Regions from separate parts of the Homo sapiens genome. Here regions 2, 3, 4 and 5 are each linked to region 1. The links are contacts of gene promoters, found by promoter capture Hi-C in blood cells and fetal thymus (Javierre and others, 2016). All regions are on one chromosome and are shown on one strand. The core of a region is centred on a gene start or on the middle of the fragment in contact, and the rest is flanking DNA. Distances in the headings are between cores, read along the strand shown.

Region 1 (3,652 bases), core at 1,115-3,614:
GAAAATGGACAAAGGACAAACAATAAGCTACCATACATACACATATGAAAACATACCATGATGATTTGGGCACATGGAAGAAGGACAATCACATACTGTCATGTAGTGTTGTGGGAAAATTGATAACCATTATGACAATCATTTCTTGATTATGTGCCATGCTCATGTGTTAAGTAGCTCTATGCGTGTTATTTATAGCAATTTATATATATTTTTTAATACAACATGTGGAAGCACTATATTAATTTTCTAGTTGAGACACAATTAGATTAAGCAATTGGCCAAATCTCTCAGCTCATAGGCAGCAGGAGGGTCAGGTTATCCATTAGGCACAGTAGACACAGTGCCTCAGGCTTATAACACTTTCGGGGGCCCATAAAAATGTTTTAATTTCTTTTAAAATCAGAAGGCAAAAAATTGAATATTTAGGTCAAAGAAAATATTTTAATGTATAATGTTAATATCTTTTTCTTCATACCAATGCAGTAATAAAATATATTTTGTAGTATTATTTTATGGAAGATGAGGCCCACACAGGTATAAGCACCTAGGGCCTGTGAAAGTCAGAATGTGGCACTGGGTGGCAGAGCTGTGTTTTGATGCTGGGCGATGTGATACCTGAGCCTATGCTCTTTCTGGAAGGTAGTTGCCAATATGTTTCAAAAGGGCTAAACTTGTTCATACTTTTTTATTACTTTTAATAATTTATCTAAGACAGTTAATAAGGACATGAACAATGGTTATGGAATACTATTTATAATATTGTTCATTTGAAACCAAACAGTCAATAACAAAAGGCTGGTTCAATATTGGGTGTCAGCTTGAGGACTAGGTGAGTACTAAGAGCTTCTGAACGGGGAGGAAATTGAGCAATGAGGGGAGCTGAAAGTGAGACACAGAGCAGGAAGAGGAGGCCTGCATGCATTCTGGAGAAGGAGTCCAGATCCCTGCTGGGGAATACCTACGGAATTTCTGAGGACGTGTTTGTAAGCACATTATTGCATCTATTTAAAGGGACCAGACAGCAAAAGCAAAAAGATGAAGAAAATCTTAGTACATGTTTAAAGCAGAGATGAGTGGGCACATATGGGGCACTGTGAAGAGTTTTTCATAACAGGAGAGATAGAGCATGTGAGCATCAAAGGAACCTTGAATATCACGTTAATCTTTGTCAGGAGAGCTCCGAAAAGCCAAAGAATGATTTTAAGCAGTGGAATGACACAGATGTATATTTTCGAATGATCTTTGTGGATATAATGTGCACCAATTTCAACTATGAAGCCAGAGGACAAGAACTAATGCATGGAGGTAGGCGGGAATGTGCATTGTTCAGTCAAGAGATACTTGTTGAATTCTGTACACACTCATGAAGTGTTGGGGTTGTTTTTGGTACACAGTTCTTTCAAAAAGCTCAGTTAAAATGGAAGGGGAGAGAGAACCAGAGGTTTTAAAATCAAGGGAAAATTTAGGACCTAATCTTAAAACGTGATTATGCTGAGGAGTTGTAGGCAGTGGAGAGGGTGAAGTTAAAGATGTGCCAAGGACCGCCCACAGTGGGGAGCAGGCAGTGGAGAGGAGCAGGGACATCTAGCCTCCGAGATAGAAGGAAAACTAGTAAGTCTGGGTGTGGACGTAGATATAATCTATGGGGGTTGGTCAGGTGGTTGGGCAAAAGCTGTAGAAATCCATGCCTGAAGGCTTCTGCTTCTCTGAAGTAGAAACCGGGTCACCTGGTAAGCAATGTGGTCCCACTGACTTCTATTTGCACATTGGCCTTTCTTCTAAAAGCAATACACATAACCAACAGTACTTTTCTAAACTAGTTGACTTTTCTGTAAAATGCAGACAGTAGACACTACTTTGTCAGATTGTTGTGTGCGTTAATTGTGCGGACACGTATACTCGGTCAATAAGTATCTGCTTTATCACCGGGCTGATGTGAGTGAGGACTAGGTGGTGGGGCTTCCACAGATGAACGTTTTGATTAATAAAAAATGGACTGAAAGTCTTCGGGTATGACCAATGGCTAAATGCAATTATTTACTCTTGCAATGTGTTCGAGGTCACCCAGCTAGGTCAAGGAGTATTTATGGACAGCCTACTTTTGCCCCCGGACCTTAAGAAGTCCTGCTCCGGGATCAGCCGCCGACCGGAAAGTCAAATTAGCAGTGCCCAGCGCGAGCTTAGAGCAGCCTCTTCCCAAATCTCAGCGGCGGCCCCGCCCCTTCCACACGTTCAGGCCCCGCCCCTCCCTACTATTGGCTGTCCGTCCCCCTCCGCTAGACTGCTCGGAAGACCCGGAGGAGCGGAGTTTTCCTAAGGCAGCATCCGAGCGCCCTCGCTGCGCATGCTCGGGGGAGGCGGATTCCGGGTCCGGAGTTGGAGGCTTTGGGCGGCCGCGGCGTAGCGCGCGGTGCCGGGGCCGGCGGGGAGGCGCGCGCTTAGGGCGCGGCGCCGGCGACGCGGCCACGCGGCGCGCTCCCGAGGAAGGGAGGTGTGGGGTCGGCTGGGGGTGGCGCGTGGACGGGGTGGGGGTGGGGGGAGGGTCGGGTGTCGGCGAGCTCCGCGTGCGGGTTCCGAGTGGCTGCTGGCGGCCTGGGCTGCCGGGGCCGACGCCTGGGTGGCTGCTGCCGCCGCGCCTGCTGCGAGATGGCGATCTTGGGCGCGGAAGGGTGAGGGCGCCCGCCGCAGGAGGAGGTGCCGCTGCCGTGGCCGCCCGGCTGCCGGGAGCCGACAGCTTCGCGCCGGGTAAGGACGGCGCGGCGCGGGGCTGGGGGTGCGAATGGGCAGGGCGGGAGGGGGCACGGGCCCTGAGCCTTGGCCGCGGTGCTGGGCGCCCGGCGCCGTCCGCCCCCGGGCTGGACCCTCCTAGGACCCGTCGGGGGACGGTCCGCCCTACCTTGGCTACCTTCTCCAGCCCGGGAGTCGGGAGTTTTCTGGGGTGGGGTCACGGGTCTTGCCCGGAGTTCGCCCTGGCAAAGGCCTGTGCCAGTGATCCTGGAGCGGAGCGAAGTGTTTCCGTGACTCTGCAGCCGCAGTTCTTAGGCTTCCTTAGCCTTCTCTTCGCCTTCCTCCACCTTTCCCTAACACCTCCCTGAAAACACAAATACATGGACTCATTGCCCGTTCCCTGACTTTCACCCCAATTTCAGCGTTGCAAACCAAGGACTCCAGCTTTGGAACGTCTTTTTCTGACATGTTTTTATCACTCTCCGTTCTTCACCGACTCTGCAGCTCCCCATCCCCCGCCCCCCCAGCGCAACCCCCACCTCCACCTTTTGTGACCTGGTAGGTTCCAGTGACCTTGCAGATTTTACCAGTCCTTATCTTGTCTGTGACTTACAGACTCTCCTTTCATCTTCGTGTTCTTTTTTTAAAAAAATTTAATTTTGTAGTTTGCTCCTTACCTTTACGACCTTTAAATGATCAGTCTTGTTCACAGTCCTTTCTTTGCTCTGCCGATTTGGAGTTTTCTCTGCTGTGGTAAATATATGAAACCTTCATTACCAAAGAAGAGTAGTGTCTGTTATAATTTTGACATTTTTACTCTTTCAGAATAAAATATTTTCCAGGGGCTTGATTTTGCCTTCTTTTTCTATTTGATAAGTTTAACAAATTTTTTTCTGTGTGTGTGTAGGTTAATGTGGAACAA
Region 2 (3,502 bases), core at 569-3,068, 910 kb before region 1:
TAGTATCAGTGGGTGTCTCTGGCTTGAAAAATGGATGTCTCTGGCTTGAAAAAATTTACTTAGGGATTTCATACCAGTTTAAAATTATTTAAATACCAAATACCAAACCATATGCCAATATATATTTGTAGGATTTCAGTTGACTGTAACTTATAAGAGTAATTCATATTATATCACAGTAATTATTTTTATAAAAACATCACAAGTCAAGAAGATGGATTAGGTTAAGCAAAGCAAAGTAACAAACATTATAGAGCCATATCTAAAGAAAAAATACATATTTTTTTTACAATGACAAGGTGCCTCCTCATCATTTAGAGGCAAAATCAAAAGTGTCCAAATAACTTTCTAAAGCCAACAGATAAAAACTAATCATATCTTAATCTTAGTGCTAAGACAGTGTTGGTGGGATTTTTAAAATGCAGTGTGTTATGGTTTAATTGACAGCATTTTTTTTTTGTAGATGAGTATAAAATAAGTTCATCTTAGGATCAGTGGAGAAAGTAGAAATACTGAGTAGCATTTTCTTTTTGTTCCCATTGTAATGTAGGGCATGGGGTGGTTAATTTATTTTCATATAAATGTCAGAGGCATTTGAACCAGAGCAACTCCATCTTGAATAAGGGCTCGGTAAAATAAGGCTGAGACTTACTGGGCTGCATTCCCAGACGGTTAGGGATTCTGAGTCACAGGATGAGATAGGAGGTTGGCACAAGATACAGGTCATAAAGACCTTGCTGATAAAACAGGTTGCAGTAAAGAAGCTGGCTAAACCCCACCAAAACGAAGATGGCAACAACAGTGATCTCTGGTGGTTCTCACTGCTACACTCCCACCAATGCCATGACAGTTTACAAATGCCATGGCAACATCAGGAAGTTACCCTATATGATTTAAAAAAGGGAGGCGTGAAGAATCAACCCCTTATTTGGCATATAATCAAGAAATAACCATAAAAATGGGCAACCAGCAGCCCTCAGGGCTGCTCTGTCTATGGAGTAGCCATTCTTTTATTCCTTTGCTTTCTTAATAAACTTGCTTTCACTTTACTCTATGGACTCACCCTGAATTCTCTCTTGCATGAGATTCAAGCACCCTCTCTTGGGGTCAGGAACTGTTTCCAGTAACATAAAGAACATACTTTGTCCATGATTATGAAGCTTGTTTACTCTCCAGAATACTTTACAGATATACATCCATGGCAACATGCATATATTGCTAGACAGATAGGTAGATATATAGATACAGAGAATTGATTTTAAAATTAACCTCTGAAAACCATAAGTAATGAATTGTGGAAAGAGTTAATTGCTGCTAATTAATTGGAATCTTGATTTTTTTAAATGTGAGATTCAAATTTATCTAACAGTATTTTATCTGTTCATTTTGTTTCATTGTGCTCTTCATCATACCTTTAACCAATGCCATGTTTCTTAAAAATACTTATGACAGACCAATCATATACTCTGGTCCTGCTTTAAGTAGCATTTTTATAGCAGACATGTTTACCCTTAAAATACTGAAAATTGCATGCCTCATTATATCAGTATTTAAAAAATTTTAAGAATATATTATTTAAATTTTATTACTTATTTGGAGTAAATGAGATAAAATAGCTTGTGGGGCATTATACTAATTGAAAGATTTCTATTAGTCTTCATTACTTAATTTTAGAAAAATAAAGAAATAACTAACATTAAAGGGCTATAAAATTCAAGCAATCAGTGCAGATATTTTTCTGCACTGCTATTTGGAAATTTGATGAAAGGCAATCTCTAACGTCTCTTAATGTCTTTAAGATGTTATGATCTTCAGTTCACCAGGTTTTGCCTTGCAAAATGGCACTTGCAATTTTTTAAATGATGCTTTATTTTTTAAATGACGTAATTTTAAAAAATCGTGCTTCCTGCATGAAAACTTCCCAGATCTTAAGTATTTATTTAATTAAACTTATAAAATGAGAATAATACATGCAAAATGTTAGTTTTCAAGTGCTTGACATGTATTTCTTCATTTAGTGTTAAAAACCAAGTGAAGTATCCAGGGCAATTATTATTCTGAGAAGTTAGCCAACCAGCCTAGGGTAACAATACTTTAAAGGAAGCTCCAGATGTAAAATTGAACTTTTTTTGTAGTTTATTTGTTTGTTTTGTTTTGTTTTCCTAGCTGCTATAGACATGAGGTAGATGCTTGATTTTTTCCAAGGAAGGAAAATAATTTATATTACGGTGAAAATAGAACCCTCCCACCTCCACCCTCCAAATATGAGTCAATGCAACTCCAACAGTGGCTTGGCCTTGAATTAGTATGGCTGCAGGGAGCCAAGGAAAGCAGGTTGAAGACAATAACTTTTCATGTTGAGTTGTTTGAGAACCTTATACATTCTGGATATTAGTTCTTTGGCAGATGCATAGTGTGTAAACATTTTCTCCCATTCTGTAGGTTGTCTCTTTATTGATTATTTATTTTGCTGTCTAGAAGCTTTTTAGTTTAATTAAGTCTCATTTGTTTATTTTTGTTTTTGTTGCATTTGCTTTTGAGGTCTTAATCATAAATTCTTTACGTAGGCCAATGTCCTGAAGAGTTTTACTAGGCTTTCTTCTAGGATTTTTATAGTTTCAGGTCTTAGATATAAGTCTTTTAATTCATCTCGAGTTAATTTTTGTATATAGTGAGAGATAGGGTCTAGAAAAACAAATAACCCCATTAAAAAGTGAGCAAAGAACATGAGCAGACATTTGTCAGAAGAAAATACACAAGTGGCCAACAAACACAAGAAAAACGCAACATCACCAATCATTAGAGAAATGCAAATTAAAACAACAATAAGATACCGTCTCACACACATGGACACAGGGAGGCGAACATCACACACTGGGGCCTACCAGGGAGTGGGGAGAAAGTGGAGGGAGAGCATTAGGACAAATACTTGATGCATGTGGGGCTTAAAACCTAGATGAAGGGTTGATAGGTGCAACAAACCACCATGGCACATGTATACTTATGTAACAAACCTGCACATTCAGCACATGTATCCCAGAACTTAAAGTAAAATAAAAAAGAAAAGAAAAAAGAAAGATACTGTTTCACACCAGTAAGAATGGCTATCACTAAAAAGTCAAAAAACAGATGTTAGTGAGGTTATGGAGAAAAGGGAATGCTTATACACTGCTGGTGGGAATGTAAATTAGTACAACCTCTATGGAAAATAATATAGACATTTCTCAAAGAAATAAAACCAGAATTACGATTGGACCCAGCAATACCTGCCACTAGGTATCTACCCAAAGGAAAAAAAAAATGTTACATCAAAAAGACACCTGCATTTGTATGTTTATTGCAGCACTATTTACATTAGCAAAGACGTGGAATGAACCCAGGTGTTCATCAATGGTGGATTTGATGAAGAAAACGTGGCATATATATATCACGGAATACTGTGCAGTCATAAAAAAAAAGAAATCATATCTTTCAGAGCAACATGGATGGAGCTGAAGGCCAT
Region 3 (3,458 bases), core at 941-3,440, 860 kb before region 1:
CAGGCCTGGGAGCAAGGATTCTATTCCTGTGTCCTCCCTTAGAATATGAACTTATGAATGCTGAAGATACTTCATATCTTTCTTTAAAGGAAATATGTATCTGACTGGAAAATTACTTGTAGCATATCAAAGTGGGCCTAAAAAATAGCATGCTTGGTATGTCACTTGAAGATTGACCTTGTAGTAATAACATATTTGAGTAAGCTTCTTGAAGTGTAGCGTAAGGAAAGATTATAATGCCCTTCTTTTTGTAGATGCAGTGTTTACATTATAATTTAAAACATGAATTTTTTTTTCTTCTTTCACTGAGAGCAATGCAACTTTAAAGCAATAGTCTGACATTTAGAGCCATTATAACAAATGGATTTATGGTGTATACACACCCACAGGCAGAAATACACATATAGATAAGGGCAGTTGAACCTACTGCATTAATCCCTGTACCCTGAGTTTGCTCTTTAAAGTTGAAAGTGGTATTAAACTAATGATGTTAATTGTATATATTGGCAAAATACCAATAGGGCTCTTTTTTTTGTCCTATAACATGGAATCTGGAGGAAGGATCATGCTCAGCTCAGGAAGCTAGGGCTGCAGGTCCTCCTCTATCTGAGTCCCTTGACTTGGCCTTGCCAATTGGTGACTTCATCCTCAAGGTGGTTGTAATAGCATTTTGAGCATCACATCTAGATATAACCACTTCTTGAGGAGGAAATGAATACCTCTTCCATTGGCTTCCTAAGAGCAGAGAAGCTCTTTCCTGAAGGCCCCTAGAAAACCTTTCACTTCTCACTGGCTAGAATTGTGTTTCTTGCTCAGTCCCTAGCCCGGGAATGTGATCATCACAGTCAGTTAAGACCTGCAGGTTTACCCCACTGAGGCTTACAGGGAGAGGGCGGATGTCTGTTAATGAGGAAGTATGGGGGGGCGTGGATTTTAGGTAAGCAGTATAAATGGGTCTGCTAATTCTGCTACCTTTATTTTCTATACCCAGGCTCTGTCTCTGTGATGCTAAAACAATGAGTCAAGTTGACTAATGTGACAGTGTAGTTTAATTGGTGCAGTGAGTAGCAGAAATCGGTTATACTGGTTTGATCAAAAGTTTGACCTGTTTACACTTTATGAACAGACTCTCTTTCAGATTGCTGGAATTCTGTTGTAACGAATCAACCCTATATATCCTTAGAATGCTCCCTTGCATTCAGTAACCATAGCTGTGCATGTTATAATGTATGTGCATGGAAGGTGGCTCTACGGGGGTGATTGAGGGACTATTACTGGACAAAAGAGATCAGGTTAAAGGCTGTTGATTCATGGGCTGCTATATTACTGTCCAAACCACCCTTTTGCATTTGGATCACGTCTTGGTTAGAGGGGGGAAAGTAGCACTTTTTGAGAACCTTGAAGAAGTGGGAGACTGTTCAACAGCTGCCTGTATCTCAGTGGTGGCCAGTAAACTGAAACAAGTTTATAAGGGAATAAAAATCAACCAGTGACAAGGGGTTCTAATGTTAAATGCATATATTGGCAAAATGCCAGTAGGGCTATGTAGGGTGGTGAGCACTCACAATTGTTCACTAAAATGCTGTTTTTAAAACAGGAAAGTAGAATGGTTGAGTGCAAATCCATAGCATGAGATAAATTGAGCTTCTTAAGGCAAATCAGCCTAGGCAAATTCATTTCCGTGTTTTTGTGTATTTGGAGATGCCAGCTCGTCACTCAGCCCATGGAGCTTACAGGTCCTGATCACTTGATCTAATTGTATGGATGTGGTAGTTTGTCTTCCCTGGGGCAGAAAACAAAGCTTTAATTTGGAACTAAAATTGTTATTATTTTGCATCTAAAGGTATGAGTTTATAGACTTTTGATGTTAGATTTTTAAATTAGAAGGTCACTGAAAATTTCCCTTAAAAATGACCCCAACGAATTTGTGTATTTTGTATAAATTGGTTTGTTATATTAAAGCATACATACATAATCTATATGTGATTATGTATTCATTAGGAATCAAACTGAATTTTGGCCATTGATGCACAGCACTGAATGTTGTGGAATGTAATTTTTGTTTGTTTTTGTTTCTGTTTTTTGAGGCAGAGCCTTGCTCTGTCGCCTAGGCTGGAGTGCAGTGGCGCAATCTCAGCTCATTGCAATCTCTGCCTCCAGGGTTTAAATGATTCTTGTGCCTTAGCCTCCTGAGTAGCTGAGATTACAGGTGCTCTACCACGCCTGTTTAATTTTTGTGTGTGTGTGTGTGTGTTTTTTTTTTTGTAGAGACAGGGTTTCACCATGTTGGCCAGGCTGGTCTCGAATTGCTGACCTCAAGTGATCCACCCGCCTCATGCCTCAGCCTTACAAAGTGCTGGGATTACAGGCATGAGCCACTGCGCCTGGCCGGGGAATGTATTTAAAGATATAACACAAGTATATAACTGAATACCATTGTGAAACATTAATTATCAATGTTTTATTGTGTCTTTTAGGTGTTGAAATTCCGTAAACTTAACTTCAATGGGGAGGGTGAACCCGAAGAACTGATGGTGGACAACTGGCGCCCAGCTCAGCCACTGAAGAACAGGCAAATCAAAGCTTCCTTCAAATAAGATGGTCCCATAGTCTGTATCCAAATAATGAATCTTCGGGTGTTTCCCTTTAGCTAAGCACAGATCTACCTTGGTGATTTGGACCCTGGTTGCTTTGTGTCTAGTTTTCTAGACCCTTCATCTCTTACTTGATAGACTTACTAATAAAATGTGAAGACTAGACCAATTGTCATGCTTGACACAACTGCTGTGGCTGGTTGGTGCTTTGTTTATGGTAGTAGTTTTTCTGTAACACAGAATATAGGATAAGAAATAAGAATAAAGTACCTTGACTTTGTTCACAGCATGTAGGGTGATGAGCACTCACAATTGTTGACTAAAATGCTGCTTTTAAAACATAGGAAAGTAGAATGGTTGAGTGCAAATCCATAGCACAAGATAAATTGAGCTAGTTAAGGCAAATCAGGTAAAATAGTCATGATTCTATGTAATGTAAACCAGAAAAAATAAATGTTCATGATTTCAAGATGTTATATTAAAGAAAAACTTTAAAAATTATTATATATTTATAGCAAAGTTATCTTAAATATGAATTCTGTTGTAATTTAATGACTTTTGAATTACAGAGATATAAATGAAGTATTATCTGTAAAAATTGTTATAATTAGAGTTGTGATACAGAGTATATTTCCATTCAGACAATATATCATAACTTAATAAATATTGTATTTTAGATATATTCTCTAATAAAATTCAGAATTCTATTCTGGGTTATTTATTTATTTATTTTTATTATACTTTAAGTTTTAGGGTACATGTGCACAACGTGCAGATTTGTTACATATGTATACATGTGCCATGTTGGTGTGCTGCACCCATTAACTAGTCATTTAGCATTAGGTATATCTCCTAATGCTATCC
Region 4 (3,973 bases), core at 712-3,211, 810 kb before region 1:
TCTGAGATTTCCATTAATGATGGAGTTGTAGATTCTTCTAATATCATGGTGATACATACTTTCATACTGGAAAGAAGTAGTACATCTCAGTTAATGGCTAGTGACATAAAGATAGAAGCTTCCCTTTCCCCAGAGGATGAGAACCTCTGTACTAAACCAAAAGTTTCTTAGGACTTGGAGGCCCTGATAAATCTTTGCACTCTTAGCAACATCATATTGTATGTCTTGTTCATCCAAGCAAAATTATTTTTTACTTAATAAATAATATCCCCTTTGGGGCCTGCTTCTACTTTTCCTAACCCGTTTGGATGAGTTTGATGATAGCAAAAGCCAAGGAACTGGCGAAGACAGCAAGTGGCCACAGCTAACAGTCAAGCCAGTTCACAAAAGTCCCAGGGAGAAAGATTCCCAGTTTCCCACTTCCAGGACTTCCTACTGGACACCAATTCTACACAGTAGAACAGTTGAGATGGATTCAGGAATGAATAATTTATTGACACTGATGTCAGAGGGAGAGGCAAGACGTCTAGGGTATGTGACCTATGGATCAGCAGCAGTCTTTTAGAAATGCAAGAGTCCCAGGCTCCACCCTAGACTTACTAAGCCAGAATATGCATTTCAACCAGACCTCCAGGTGATGTGTGTGTGCATTAAAACGTGAGAAGCTGTAGCACTCAGGGTGACAGTATTCCATGTAGTTCACCTAAGTGTCTTCCCTCACGATCTCATCCTTCACCCATACACTTTCCTCCGCAGACCTTACTCCTATGTAAGACTTATTTTGCTTGCATGTTACCTTATATTATAAAATCATTAAGGTTAGGAGGGGGTCAATCACTAGAGCAACTGGGAGAGGTGCCAGTGCTTTGAATGTAGCTGGAACCTCTCTCCATTTGGAGTAATTCCAACCATAAACTTGGCCTGCCTTACTTTGGTTGGTCAGAAGAATATAAACATTCTACAGTCTCTTTATCTAGTTTGTTTTTCTCAATGTCTTGCTGAGAAATATGTTCTTCAGAATTCACTGACAACACATATTTAATCTATGGCTCTCCTTCAACACAATAAATTTCCCTTTATCAGCACTAACCCCAAACTCCCTCACCGATTACTACCTGCTTTTTTTTTTTTTTTTTTTGAGACGGAGTTTCGCTCTTGATGCCCAAGCTGGAGTGTGCAAGGGCACAATCTTGGCTCACCACAACCTCCGCTTCCCAGGTTCAAGAGATTCTCCTACCTCAGCCTCCTGAGTGGCTGGGATTACAGGCATGCGCCACCATGCCCAGCTAATTTTTTGTATTTTTAGTAGAGGTGGGGGTTTCTCCATGTTAGTCAAGCTGGTCTTGAATTCCTAACCTCGTGTGATCCGCCTGCCTTGGCCTCCCAAAGTCCTGGGATTACAGGCGTGAGCCACCGTACCCAGTCTAATTACTACCCTCTTTAAATGTATCTCCCTATAAAAAGAAGTTCATCTCTGTGGTCCCCCACATCCTTCCCTACTGACTCTCCCCTTCTGGCAGTTCTCTTGGACTCAGCTGTTAGGACCATCAGGACCCAGTTCATAAATGGATATACTGCAAAATTTTGTTTTAAAATCTTTTATTTGAAATTACAATGCACATTCTAACAGAAATTGTATACTTGGTTTTTCAAAATAACAAGGAAAAGATTATTACGTCTTTAATATGGTTGTGGAATTGTTCATCTAAAATGAAAGGGATAATAAAGCAATGTAATTGCAATACAGTAACTAAACATGAGGAAAAACCAATGACATTGAATACGAAGTGATAATATATGCATTTTAGATTTGGTTGAACTAAAGAAGCATGAGTATCATCTGTGAAGAGCATAATAAGGCTACCTTTTATTATTATGAATAATTACATCTAAAAATAGTTGCTGTTCTATTCCTGAATATAAATGGTATCCAGGCCCTACCAGATGTAACTTGGGTCTCCTGGTTCCTTAAGAATAACATACTTTTCATTCCAGTTTTTAATCAACTCTACCCACATGTTCAGGCAATCATTGGTGTAAAACTTGAGACCTTTAGAGAAGGAGCCCTTTGAGATTCCTCTTAGAACCACACTGCCATCATCCTCTGCCTCCCTTGTGCTAATCTCTTCTGACTCCATGACTCCTAAATATTCTTCTGGGGAAAAGCAATATTTTGAACTGAGCGACGGTATGAGTTTCAGATCCCAGCGTAAATCCTGACTTGGGTAGATGAAGGTACGGGATGTGTTATACTCAGTCTCATGGAATGTCAACTCTGAGTGTTAGAGAAAGTAATTCTTCCATAGCAAAGTTTCTGAAAATAATAGGACTCAAGAAAACTCATTGAGTCCAAAATGTTGATTTCAGCAGGAACAAAGCAAGTACAACCTGACCCCAAAGGGGAATCAATTTTAACAAACGTGTGGAAACAGTCTCAGAACGGAACACATCTGAGTTACTTGTAATTAATTGACTTTAAAAGTCATGATTAAAACCTATCCAGTGGCCCTTAAAAAACTGACTCAGTAACTTTGAAAATAATCTCTGTATTGACATGGTTCAGGTAACGGACCCTCAAAATGGAAGTGTTAAGTTGGTTCTATCACAGAGATTAATTATTCTTTGGGAAACAAGTGAAAATTAACAAATTGATTTCATGTGGTATCCAAACTTGTGCACAGCCCTTGCAATAATCATTGAAAGTTATTTAGCACAGAAGGAGGACCCACAAGCTAGCTCCTAAGAAAAAAGCAAGAGCCATGACACCACATTCCTCCGCATCGCTGTGATCTTTATTAGGACTCCAAGAAAACACAGGGCTGAGCAGTAACTCATTGCCTCAGTTGCTCTATAAGACATAGAAGAAAAGCTGTTTGGGATAAGAGGAAAATTTTGGAATTTTATATAAAGAAGACTACTTACTACCTGTTAAAAATTACTAATTTTTCGTCTTCCTTTTAGTCATACCTAAAGACTCCTACATGGCTTTGATGACATAAAGAGTTTGTAGAGTGAAGACAGAAATGGTGAATGAATAAACAATTTGGGCTTGAATGTAATGACCAAAAGAAGTCCAGGAGAGTTTCAGGTAGGGAAAAAACGGAAAGTGAAAGTTTTCACTTCCAAAATAGTGACAAATCCCAATGAAACAAATGAAAGAAGTGTTCTGAATTGAGACAGTTATAGACAATCTACCATTTTCTTTTTAATCAGTATTAAAACACAAACTAAGTTTTATTTAGCATCTTATTAAACCTATAGAGAACTATTCCTTATACTATTTTAGATATGTAAAAACTTGAATAACGTTTTATCTTCTAAAGAGAATTTATAGTGTCCCCATGCTGGGTAATTCTGTAATAATGAAATACATTTCTACTTTGAAATATCTGTTAATAAAATCTGATTTTGGTATATTTCTCAAGATACTTGATTAAAATGTCATCTTAACAAATATTTGAATGATAACATTTTTCTTTAAAAAAACCTACTGTATATTTCATCTTTGGTATTATCAAAAAACAGAGTATATAAATCTGTAGATCTTGCTACATTTTCTGGAAAAATTGACATCTTTTGGATTAAGGTGAAACTTCATATTTTGAGAGTGTTTTAAGTTATAGCATACCTTGATTGTGATTTGAAACCTGTATATCTCAGACTTTGTGTTTCTTTGAATTATAGAAAGGTTTAATGAATTTTGGGTTGCTATTAGAGTCTAGAAAATGCTCAAGTAGATAATAGGATATGGATACCCTAACAATAAATCCATTAGCTTTTGGTATTGGGTGTTAGGTTTCAGTCACAAGCTTTTCAATTTAAAAAATCTTTTATTCCCAGGGAACCAACTTGCAGCTACATCCACAATTCCTCAACACTGGAACAACATGCTTATGACCTTTCCTTTTCACAGCAACAGTGACGTGTTTGGTTTGTAACAGTTTCTGAACCACTGAAGTACTTTTCAACTTTC
Region 5 (3,727 bases), core at 996-3,495, 840 kb before region 1:
ATATATGTTTTCTAAAAATGCCATTGTCCTTGAAATCATTAATTTTATATTTGTATAGAAGACAAGAAATTGACTTTACATGTAGACTAGTGAGATTGCTATATCTAAATTTGCATACAAATCAGAAAACATTTACATTGAGTTTTACATTTTTGATGCTCTGATCCTACCTGATAGACTCACAAGAAAGTCTGATCTGCGAAAGATTCTTTCTCTCCAGAGATTTCTTCAGATCTGAGAGGTATATACATCTCTTCAAGAAACATTCATTGGGCATAATTCACTATTATTGCCTGCTGATAAAGTAGGAAGTCACAGACATTTCTTGTGGGCAAATTCCACAGGTGATGGTCCCCTGAAATGTCTCTGATTCTGTCTCCTCCCATCACTCCTGCTACCAGTGAGGGAAAGGGAGATCTGCCATTGTCCTGGGGCTGGGGATCCACTCACATCTCTGGTAGCACTGTCACCATTGCCAGGGCTTCTAGCTGAGCCTTATAGTCTCATGGCCTTAGTGCATACCTCCTTCAACTCACACAAGTTGTGATGCTCTTGAGAGGTGAGCACAATTCACAATTGCAAAAATGTGGAACCATCCCAAATGCCCATCAATCAACGAGTGGATAAAGAAATTGAGGTGTGTGTGTGCGTGTGTGTGTGTGTGTATATGATAAATATATATATGATAAATACATATATATGATAAAATACTACTCATCCATACAAAGGAATGAATTAATGGCATTTGCAGCAACCTGGATGGGAAAGGAGATTATTATTCTAAGTGAAGTATCTCAGGAATAGAAAACCAAACATATGGTTTTCACTCATAAGTGGGAGCTAAGCTATAAGAACACAAAGGCATACAAATGACACAATAGACTTTAGGGACTCAGGGGGAAAGGGTGGGAAGAGGGTGAGGAATAAAGACTACAAATCAGGTTCAGTGTATACTGTTCTGGTGATGGGTGCACAGAAATCTCACAGATCACCACTAAAGAACTTACTCATGTAACTAAATACCACCTGTTTCTCAAAAACCTACAGAAATAAAAAAAATTGTTTTAAAGACACAAGAAATTAAAAAAAAAAAGAAAAAGAGGTGAGTAGAATCCCTTCTTGTCTCTCTCTATATTATCTATATTATAATGTATTGGCTTAGAACTGTCTGTGCTTCTAAATGCTGGCATGCACAATTCTTTCACACACACACACACACACGCATGCACACACACACGTCATTGTCTCTCGAGTGCTCCCACAGCGCAGGCCCCATTTGGCCTTCACACTGAGGACAGCTTGGGGTCCAGGCATCATCTTCCCTATTGGTGCTTTCCCTTTTATGATGCAATCTGGTTTCAATCACATATCACCCCAGTTTATGCATTTTTACAGGGTTGAATCTCAGTGAGGTCAGTGTTCTTGTATCTTTTTCAAAGGCAGGTAGATTTTCAGCTCTTATATACACTAATTCATTCTAACAGATACTTGGGCTATTGTCTAACTCTGCTCCTCCTCAGCATATAAGCTTAACCTTCTTATGGATTCACTGAGTGAGAGGGGATTCCTATATCCACTTACCAACTGTGGTTGACCATGTATTAGTTTGCTAGAGTGTCTGTAACAATGTACCACAAACTGAGTGGCTTAAACAATAGTTTATTGTCTTGCAACTCTGGACCCTGGGACCAAGATGAAGGTGTTGGCCAGACCTGTGAAGGTACTAGAGAAGGCTCTGTCCCAGACTTGTCTCCTAGTTTCTGGCAGTTACTTGATTTGTGGCAGCATACCACCAATTTCCACAGGGCATGCTCCCTGTGTATCTATGTCCAAATATCCTCTTTTTATAGACACCAGTCATATTGGATTATACCATGGAATGCCCACTCTACTCCATTACTTAAGATGAGCTCATCTTAACTAATTCCATCGGCAATGAATAGGACTCCAACCTTATATTATTTTGAGGGGGAGAGACACAATTCAACCCTTAACACCATTCAAAATATCTTTCCGCACAAAAATTTGTGTTACATGACAAAGGGAAACTTTATTCTTCACTAATTGCTAAACGTGTCTTAATTGGGCCTACACTTTATTTCATTGTTGCTTCCTGTTAAAAAACTTCATAAAATATATATGGCATGTTTTAATTACTGTGACAGATTCAATATAAATTTTAAAAGGAGAAAGAAAGCACATTTTAATGTACCATGTGTTTATATTATATGTAAATCTTTCACGATTGGCGAAAATTTTTACAGAATATTTGTGGAGGTCCCAAGTTAGAAATATTAAACACTTTATCAAGCTGCACTCATGTCCCTGATGTCTTCAAATGTATGTTGTTACAAACCTCATTTTTCAGGAAGCAATGTGCGTCTCGTTCATGTCCTGTGTTTCACCTGTATGTTTGTTATCCATATAAAGTTATAGTTATAAGACTTGTTATTTTACAATGAGAGCAAAGTTACTTCTTTTTTTTTTTTTTTTTTTTGAGAGGAGTTTCACTCCTGTCACCCAGGCTGGAGTGCAGTGGCGCCATCTTTGCTCACTGCAACCTCCACCTTCCGGGTTCAAGCAACTCTCCTATCTCTGCCTCCCAAGTAGCTGGGATTACAGGTGCCTGCCACCACACCCAGCTAATTTTTGTATTTTTAGTAGAGATGAGGTTTCACCATGTTAGCCAAGCTGGTCTCAAACTCCTGACCTCAGGTGATTCACCCACCTCGGTCTCCCAAAGTGCTGGGATTACAGGCGTGTACCACAGTGCCTGGCTGCAAAGCTATTTCTATACATGTCAGAACATGACATTGTTATCAGTGCATCAAATTTCTTTAATCTTTAGTAAAATAAAGCTGTCACAGTCTTGTTAGGTGACAAAAGTACTTTTTGTATAAAGTAAGCATGAATTGGGTTTTGTGTCAACTCATTGATTCTATAAGGAGAAACAATTCACTTTCAAGCTTTTTTCTTCAGTAACTAATACTCTGGCACATCTGGAGTTCAAATACTATGTTTTTTTTTTAAAGAATTCTGAAGCAACACTTCATATAATTTTCCATTGTTCTTCAAAGACTGGAAAAAAATGAGTTAGACTTGTATTGAAAAGGCTTTGGGCAGAGAGTTAGGCAAACTCCTTGCTGTTGATGCAAATTAAATCAGATCATTAGGTTAGAGATCATATAAACTAATGCTGTGGTGTTCCATGTTGAGCAGGTCTATGCAAACCAACCCCAAAATTCAAGGAAGCTGAGAGGCCAAAGGAGGAGTGACAGATCAGTTTCTTAGAAAGAAATAGTTAATAGGAACTTATGATCAGAAGCTGTGTCTGGTCGGTATCTCGGGAGGTGGTGGGACAAGATGTTGGAAACTCATGCTATTACCCCACCAACCCAGGGCTTACATACCACAGGGAAAGGATAATTCCAAAAGGATGTGTAGGACATCTGAAGTATGATAACTGAAGTATATTAGGTTGTTTGACCTAAAGGTAAGATTTACAGTAAATACCTTTGCGCGAGAAGCAATGGATAAACTGGAAATCTTAGAGGCCCTCCAGGAACAGAGGTTGATCAGAAGCCAACACGGCAGATTAGCATCCAAGGTGGAGTTGCATTAGCCTCCGCAATTGGTCATAATCACCTTGCCAGGCCCCATTCCAGCTAAAGTTGTTTCTCAATAATTTCAGGAAAGCAGTGGTCTGCTATTCTCTGAGCACCATTGA

The links. Contacts are between HindIII fragments. The CHiCAGO score rates a contact against its expected background, and 5 or more counts as called.
Region 2: a fragment that was not itself captured here is called in contact with the fragment with the promoter of WWP1 in region 1 in 2 of 17 cell types (monocytes and erythroblasts); the score reaches 7.6 in monocytes.
Region 3: a fragment that was not itself captured here is called in contact with the fragment with the promoter of WWP1 in region 1 in 5 of 17 cell types (activated CD4 T cells, total CD8 T cells, total B cells and 2 more); the score reaches 7.0 in activated CD4 T cells.
Region 4: a fragment that was not itself captured here is called in contact with the fragment with the promoter of WWP1 in region 1 in 1 of 17 cell types (monocytes); the score reaches 5.6 in monocytes.
Region 5: a fragment that was not itself captured here is called in contact with the fragment with the promoter of WWP1 in region 1 in 4 of 17 cell types (activated CD4 T cells, total CD4 T cells, non-activated CD4 T cells and 1 more); the score reaches 9.6 in activated CD4 T cells.

What each region holds. Positions count from the first base shown.
Region 1 is chr8:86,340,183-86,343,834 of GRCh38, forward strand. WWP1 (WW domain containing E3 ubiquitin protein ligase 1) reads left to right here and starts at 2,365. Exons shown (of 25, transcript NM_007013.4): 1 at 2,365-2,748. It overlaps WWP1-AS1 (WWP1 antisense RNA 1), which reads right to left. Exons shown (of 6, transcript XR_007060994.1): 2 at 3,408-3,478; 3 at 2,900-3,094. RefSeq lists a silencer at 2,456-2,915. The HindIII fragment of the contact is 10,725 bases long and covers 1-3,652 here.
Region 2 is chr8:85,430,807-85,434,308 of GRCh38, forward strand. No RefSeq gene overlaps it. Among named protein-coding and RNA genes, the nearest start is that of CA3, 6.3 kb to the right of the region's middle. The HindIII fragment of the contact is 1,321 bases long and covers 1,159-2,479 here.
Region 3 is chr8:85,478,193-85,481,650 of GRCh38, forward strand. CA2 (carbonic anhydrase 2) reads left to right here. Exons shown (of 7, transcript NM_000067.3): 7 at 2,478-3,301. The coding sequence ends at 2,597. Among named protein-coding and RNA genes, the nearest start is that of CA3-AS1, 15 kb to the left of the region's middle. The HindIII fragment of the contact is 782 bases long and covers 1,800-2,581 here.
Region 4 is chr8:85,530,562-85,534,534 of GRCh38, forward strand. LOC105375937 (a long non-coding RNA gene) reads left to right here. Exons shown (of 7, transcript XR_929129.4): 6 at 2,962-3,088; 7 at 3,841-3,973. Among named protein-coding and RNA genes, the nearest start is that of CA3-AS1, 68 kb to the left of the region's middle. The HindIII fragment of the contact is 3,691 bases long and covers 117-3,807 here.
Region 5 is chr8:85,497,364-85,501,090 of GRCh38, forward strand. LOC105375937 (a long non-coding RNA gene) reads left to right here. Exons shown (of 7, transcript XR_929129.4): 3 at 3,692-3,727. Among named protein-coding and RNA genes, the nearest start is that of CA3-AS1, 34 kb to the left of the region's middle. The HindIII fragment of the contact is 1,438 bases long and covers 1,527-2,964 here.